Linked DNA regions of Homo sapiens: region 2 is linked to region 1. Evidence: promoter capture Hi-C in human tissues and cell types (Jung and others, 2019). All regions are on one chromosome and are shown on one strand. Each heading gives the region's core, a stretch centred on a gene start or on the middle of the fragment in contact. The rest is flanking DNA. Distances are from core to core; before and after follow the strand shown. Region 1 holds the start of EGR1 (early growth response 1). Region 2 overlaps MATR3 (matrin 3).

The links. Contacts are between HindIII fragments. The study calls those that stand out against the background at their distance.
Region 2: a contact is called between a fragment that was not itself captured here and the fragment with the promoter of EGR1 in region 1, in 1 of the 25 tissues and cell types used here (dorsolateral prefrontal cortex).

What each region holds. Positions count from the first base shown.
Region 1 is chr5:138,463,431-138,467,042 of GRCh38, forward strand. EGR1 (early growth response 1) reads left to right here and starts at 2,049. Exons shown (of 2, transcript NM_001964.3): 1 at 2,049-2,638; 2 at 3,327-3,612. The coding sequence starts at 2,332. RefSeq lists silencers at 653-922, 1,243-1,642, 1,653-2,002, 2,093-2,302 and enhancers at 835-2,034, 1,107-1,947, 1,948-2,787. The HindIII fragment of the contact is 10,830 bases long and covers 1-3,612 here.
Region 2 is chr5:139,309,554-139,313,165 of GRCh38, forward strand. All of the region lies in intron 2 of MATR3 (matrin 3), which reads left to right. Among named protein-coding and RNA genes, the nearest start is that of MATR3, 18 kb to the left of the region's middle. The HindIII fragment of the contact is 5,043 bases long and covers 1-3,612 here.

The DNA.
Region 1 (3,612 bases), core at 799-3,298:
AAAATGGACATTCAGACACAAGGCCATCTGCGCTGCAACAGCCTGGCCTTCCTGCCCTTGCGGCAGGAGTCCTCTGAGAGGCGCATCACTCCTGCCCCAATGGACAACTCGGTAGACAGTGGGAGTGAGCCCCCCACCTCCCCAGCGGACTTGAGACGGCAGGCTCCGAGACGAGGGAGTCCTGGTTCATTAAGTTGGTTTTTATAAGAAAACATGTTTGGAGGGGGGACAGCCACAGAGGGATTAAGTCCAAGAAAGTTACACCCTCCCCCACCTAATCCCCCTGACCCCGACCTCCAGAGGCTGTTGGGGTTCACAGAGGCCCTCACCTCCTCCCTTCCCTCTCGGTGTCGTCAAGCACCCTCCTTCCCCACATTCTCTTTCTGCTTTCTTTTTAAATCCAGAAAAAACAGCACCTCCTCTGGATTCAGAGCTAGAGCAGGAGGAGCCTTCCCTTCCCGGAATCCCTGTTCCCTTTGGGGTGAGCAACTGACTGCGTCGTGGGGGCGGGGAGGGCTTCCCTGTTCGCGTTCGGCCCCAGGGAGACCTGCGGGAATCGTTCTCCCTCGCCACCACCCACCCCCTGCTTCCTTCTCCCCCTCGCCTTGGCCAGGCTCGGGGTGAGGAGTGTTATCCCGGAGTCTGGGCGCCTCGGCAGTGACGGCTCCCCAGGGACTGCAGGGGGAGCCCGGGCTGCAGCGCCTGCTCAGTTCGTGCTCACTGCGTCGAAGGCTCCCCCGGCCTGGCTCCGCGCCCAGCGCCGCATCCGGGAGGAGGAGCGAGGAGGCGGCGGAAGAGCCCGCGCGGCCGGAGTCCGGGGCTGGGAGTGGAGAGGGAACCTCCAGGGGGCAGCACCGAGCCGCCAAGCCGGTCCTCTCTTCGCGCCCAGCCCGGGGTCCCCAGACAGCCCATAGGGAAGCCCCTCTTTCGGATTCCCGCAGTGTGGGCCGGCCCTCCACCTGGACTGGATAAAGGGGGGAAAGTGACCCCTCACCACAAGGACCATTATCTCCTGGTGAGAACAAGAATCAGGCCTCTCTTGGGGCAATCAGCTTCCCCACTTCGGTCCCCCAAAGGTGGGCTCTTTGCCGGCGGGGACTAGGGAACAGCCTTTCGGTTCCGGGGGAGCACAGGGGACCCCAGGCACCAGCAGCCCCATCCCACCGACAGGTGGCAGAGGCAAGGCAGCTCACTGCTATACAGTGTCCCAAGAACCAAGTGGCCGTGACTTCCTATCCTCAATTTCCCAGCGACACCCGGAAAGACACCGTGCCATAGATCGAGGCCCGGGGTCAAGGCCCCGCCTCTCCTGGGCGGCCCCTGCCCAGGCGGGCCCAGCCGCTCCTCCCCCGCACTCCCGGTTCGCTCTCACGGTCCCTGAGGTGGGCGGGCGGGCCCTGGATGACAGCGATAGAACCCCGGCCCGACTCGCCCTCGCCCCCGCTCTGGGTCTGGGCTTCCCCAGCCTAGTTCACGCCTAGGAGCCGCCTGAGCAGCCGCGCGCCCAGCGCCACACGCCACGAGCCCTCCCCGCCTGGGCGTCCCCGGATCCCGCGAGCGCTCGGGCTCCCGGCTTGGAACCAGGGAGGAGGGAGGGAGCGAGGGAGCAACCAGCTGCGACCCGGAAATGCCATATAAGGAGCAGGAAGGATCCCCCGCCGGAACAACCCTTATTTGGGCAGCACCTTATTTGGAGTGGCCCGATATGGCCCGGCCGCTTCCGGCTCTGGGAGGAGGGAAGAAGGCGGAGGGAGGGGCAACGCGGGAACTCCGGAGCTGCGCGGGTCCCGGAGGCCCCGGCGGCGGCTAGAGCTCTAGGCTTCCCCGAAGCCTGGGCGCCTGGGATGCGGGCGCGGGCGCGGGCCCTAGGGTGCAGGATGGAGGTGCCGGGCGCTGTCGGATGGGGGGCTTCACGTCACTCCGGGTCCTCCCGGCCGGTCCTGCCATATTAGGGCTTCCTGCTTCCCATATATGGCCATGTACGTCACGACGGAGGCGGACCCGTGCCGTTCCAGACCCTTCAAATAGAGGCGGATCCGGGGAGTCGCGAGAGATCCCAGCGCGCAGAACTTGGGGAGCCGCCGCCGCCATCCGCCGCCGCAGCCAGCTTCCGCCGCCGCAGGACCGGCCCCTGCCCCAGCCTCCGCAGCCGCGGCGCGTCCACGCCCGCCCGCGCCCAGGGCGAGTCGGGGTCGCCGCCTGCACGCTTCTCAGTGTTCCCCGCGCCCCGCATGTAACCCGGCCAGGCCCCCGCAACTGTGTCCCCTGCAGCTCCAGCCCCGGGCTGCACCCCCCCGCCCCGACACCAGCTCTCCAGCCTGCTCGTCCAGGATGGCCGCGGCCAAGGCCGAGATGCAGCTGATGTCCCCGCTGCAGATCTCTGACCCGTTCGGATCCTTTCCTCACTCGCCCACCATGGACAACTACCCTAAGCTGGAGGAGATGATGCTGCTGAGCAACGGGGCTCCCCAGTTCCTCGGCGCCGCCGGGGCCCCAGAGGGCAGCGGCAGCAACAGCAGCAGCAGCAGCAGCGGGGGCGGTGGAGGCGGCGGGGGCGGCAGCAACAGCAGCAGCAGCAGCAGCACCTTCAACCCTCAGGCGGACACGGGCGAGCAGCCCTACGAGCACCTGACCGCAGGTAAGCAGTGGCCTACGCCGAGGGGGAACCCTTTCGCCACCATCCTGGCGTCCTGTCCTTCACCGCAGGAGTGCTCCTGGATCTTAGAATGAGAGCCGGGTTTCCCTTTCATTCCTCGCATCCCCAGAGTCATGTGTTAGAGGGATGCCAAGGAACCCCACACAGCCCACCCCCTGCCCTCATCCCTAGCGGAGCGCAGAGGACCGAGCTTTTGTTTTGGATGGAGAGCTCTGGAGCTGCGTGGGTGGGTGGAGGGGGAGGGCTTGTTTTGATGAGCGGGGCTGCGCCCCCCACCTCCAGTAAGACTTGCCTTGCCTTGCTTGCCGCCTGTCCCCAAGGAAGGACCGTGATCCTTGGCCGTGGATGTCCCGGCAGCCCGGGTTTGGGGGCGCGCACTAGCCGCGGCCATGGGGGTGCTGGCGGGAATCCCTCGCCCGCACAGCCGCCGCTGCGGAGCGCTGCGAGCTGCAGTGGAGGGGGATTCTCCGTATTTGCGTCAGCTGTTGTTGAAATGGGCTCTGCCACTGGTGCGGGTCCAGGAACATTGCAATGTGCTGCTATCAATTATTAACTACCTCGGGAGTCAATGGTAGCCGGCCCGGTCTCTTGCCTGGCAGCTCGGGTCGTCCTCGTCCTCCAGTGATTGCTTTCCAGTAACCAGGCCTCCCGCTTCTCTCTCTCCTGCCAGAGTCTTTTCCTGACATCTCTCTGAACAACGAGAAGGTGCTGGTGGAGACCAGTTACCCCAGCCAAACCACTCGACTGCCCCCCATCACCTATACTGGCCGCTTTTCCCTGGAGCCTGCACCCAACAGTGGCAACACCTTGTGGCCCGAGCCCCTCTTCAGCTTGGTCAGTGGCCTAGTGAGCATGACCAACCCACCGGCCTCCTCGTCCTCAGCACCATCTCCAGCGGCCTCCTCCGCCTCCGCCTCCCAGAGCCCACCCCTGAGCTGCGCAGTGCCATCCAACGA
Region 2 (3,612 bases), core at 797-3,296, 850 kb after region 1:
GTATTTTTGTCTTTTAATCTTTAATCTGTACCAAAGTAAATTAACATAAATGCTAAATTTAGGTTTATTTAAACATTTAAGAAGATGTATTTTCATTAAGAAATACAACCCCAGACTCACAAAAGCCAGCAAATTTTAATTGGTATATGTTTTGGGTGTTACCTTTTCCTAAATTTGTTGGCTCTACTAAATATATCATGGAATTCATTTTAGTTTCTGATCAGCACTAAACTTTAAATTTTAGGTCCCGTGTGAATTCATAGAATGAAAAGGTCCATTAAACACTGGTGACTCCAATTTTTTCTGCGTTATTTCTTGCCTGTTTATAAGGAAATAATAGCAGAAATGTCAGTATGACCAATATTCTCAGAAAGGGTCTCTAAATTCTGAGGAAAATAGATAGTTACAAGTGTCTCAAATGAGAGTGATGTGAAGGGACTTAAAAAATCTTCGCTACTGGAGTCATTAAGCTGTTGGGACATCATGAACACAATGGAACCATGAGAGGACTTCGAGAAAAGTTTCTGTTTTTATGTATGATTATGCTTTTTTCCTTCAAATTTTGCTACTTTCTAGTTCCTGAAGAAGGCTAATAACTTAAATGGATCTAAATTAACAAAAGAGCAGTTTTTACATATTTTGATGAAACTATGGATTCAAGAGTAAGATACACTACCCTAGTGCAAGAGGTACTTTTAGCCTGTAAAAATGCTTAGGTCCTAGCTAGTTTTGGTATTCTGTCAAAATACTGAGTACATTTGAGAACTATTTTAGAGGCCTTTTGTTTAATTCTGTGGTTTAAATGTGTAAATTGGACCAACTTTAAGAAGTTTAAACACATGGATTATCTGAATTTCTAGTTTTCTAGTTGCTTTACTATGTTTTTTACGTATATGCATTATATTGAAAAAATCTTTACTCACTTTAGCAGTGGACCCTCTATAACCGCTATAGAAATGACCTTAGAGAAAATTTCTGTGATGGAAGTAGATAATGAAAAATTTTTAAACATTTAATCCTGCTCTCTGGTATTGCTGCATAACTTGGAAAATCTGTTCTTTTTACTTAGTGGTATTGTTAAATAGTCTACATGATCAAAAATTCTTACTGTGAAGTAAGAAACTTAAGTTGAAAATAATTTGTCATGGAGTGTCATTATTTTTAGGTGACTTAAAGTGATGGTGGTGTTTTTATTTCTTTATAGGTCATTTTAGGTCATCAAATTGCTTTTCTTTTCTTTTCTTTTTTTCTTTTTTTTTTTGAGACGGAGTTTCACTTTTGTTGCCCAGGCTGTAATGAGTGCAATGGTGCGATCTCGGCTCACCGCAACCTCCGCCTCCCAGGTTCAAGCAATTCTCCTGCTTCAGCCTTCCGAGTAGCTGGGATTACAGGCATGCGCCACCACGCCCAGCTAATTTTATATTTTTAGAGCCAGGGTTTCTCCATGTTGGTCAGGCTGGTCTTGAACTCCTGACCTCAGGTGATTCACTGCCTTGGCCTCCCAAAGTCCTGGGATTACAGGTGTGAGCCATCGCACCCAGTCATCAGATTGCTTTTCTATGCAATCTCAAGCTTTCTCAGCTTCCTTTCACTTAAAGAAAATTACCCACTACAGCACTTTGGCTGTCTTGTCACTTGAGTTTATATTAAGTTATACTTTTTTCTGCCATTCTGTAAGTGCTTCCCAAATTCTTTTTTTTCTCTCTATAAGGTATCTCAGATACATCAAGGTGAATGTAGTTTTCCTACAGAAATGTCTGAATTTAAAAAGTGCACGAATCCTTTATTAATCTGATTTTACAGGAGTTACCTCAGTGTAGAGTCCAGGGATATATATTTTTATAAAACTCTTTCACTTAGTCCCCACCGTAAACCAACCAGTAATAGATCAGTAGTACAGATTAGTCATTGGATGAGTTTGGGAGGTATGTGATTGATTTTTTGATCTTGGCCTTCCTTTTTTCACTTTGAAAGACCAGACACACTTTTCCCCTAAGTTTGAACCTTTAAACAACGTGGAGGATTGGATATAATTTCTGTTCAGCTATGTACCCTTTCTAGCTCCTATGAAATAGAAGCATGCGTAGTAGGATAACATTTATTTCTCTCCCACAACTTAAGAATATTTTAAGTAAAATCTGAATATTTTTAGTTCAGAGAATTGTAAGTCGTTAATTGGTATTTGTTTAATTAATCCTTTTTTTTTTTTTTTTTTTTTTTTTTTTTTTTTTTGAGAAGGTTTCTCGCTCTGTGTCCCAGGCTGGAGTACAGTGGCGTGATCTTGGCTCACTGCATCCTCTGCCTTTCGGGTTCAAGCAATTCTCCTGCCTCAGCATCCCAGGTAGCTGGGATTACAGGCATACATCACCATGCCCAGCTAATTTTTTTGTATTTTTAGTAGAGACGGGTTTCACCATGTTAGCCAGGCTGGTCTCTAACTCCTGGCCTCAGGTGATCCGCCTGCCCCGGCCTCCCAAAGTGCTGGGATTACAAGTATGAGCCACCACGCCCAGCCAAGGCTTCTAAATTTTGTGAACTTACCTGTGGCTCCTCTGACTTAGAGCCATTTTTATTTTATTTTATTTTGTTTTATGTTTTTGAGAAAGGGTCTTTTGCTTTGTAGCCCACGCTGAAGTGCGCTTAGGTGTTCGCAGCTCATTGCACTCTCTACCACCCAGGCTCAAGTGACGCATGTACCACCACCACATCTGGCGTTTTTTTCTTGATAGAGATCGGGTTTCACTGTGTTGCCCAGGCTGGTCTCAAACTCCTGGGCTCAAGTAATCTGCCTGCTTTGGCCTCCCAGAGTGCTGGGATCGTATGCGTGAGCCACTGCACCCGGCCCTTACAAGCCATTTTAAAACTGGTCCCCAAGAAGGCAGTGGTCCATTACTTTCCAGTTGAAACTTTAGATATCCCAAATAGCTGATGATTAGAGAGCCAGCTGGAGAGATCTTGAGTTCCTTAGCTATTAGCCATTATTTTAAAAAGATAATCTAGCTTTGAGAGACCTGGAAATAGTAGTTTATAGCTTCCAACATTTTAAGGAAGGTACCATTCTATTTGGATGAGTTCCATTTTAGTTTACAGGATTTTATTTTTATTTATTTATTTATTTTTGAGACAGTTTCACTCTTGCCCAGACTGGAGTGCAATGGTGTGATCTTGGCTCACTGCAACCTCTGCCTCCCAGGTTCAAGCTATTCTCCTGCCTTAGCCTCCCAAGTAGCTGGAATTACAGGCACCTGCCACCATGCCTGGCTAATTTTTGTATTTTTAATAAAGACAGCGTTTCACCATGTTGGCCAGGCTGGTCTTGAACTCCTGACCTCAGTTGATGCTCCCACCTTGGCCTTCCAAAGTGCTGGGACTGCAGGCCTGAGCCACCGCACCTGGCCTTTCACAGGATTTTAGATAATTTTACTAGAGCATAGGAATGTACCTAAACTGTTGTCAGGTAAATATAAACCAGTTTTTTTTTTTTTTTTTTTTAGGAGCTCATTTATAAAATACCAATCCGCAGCTTTTTGAAAGCACGTATCTTGTAATTTGGTACCTTGGTACCTTACTCTAATTTAGTTCAGCTCTCAGTGAGACATCCCCCTTTAAAAA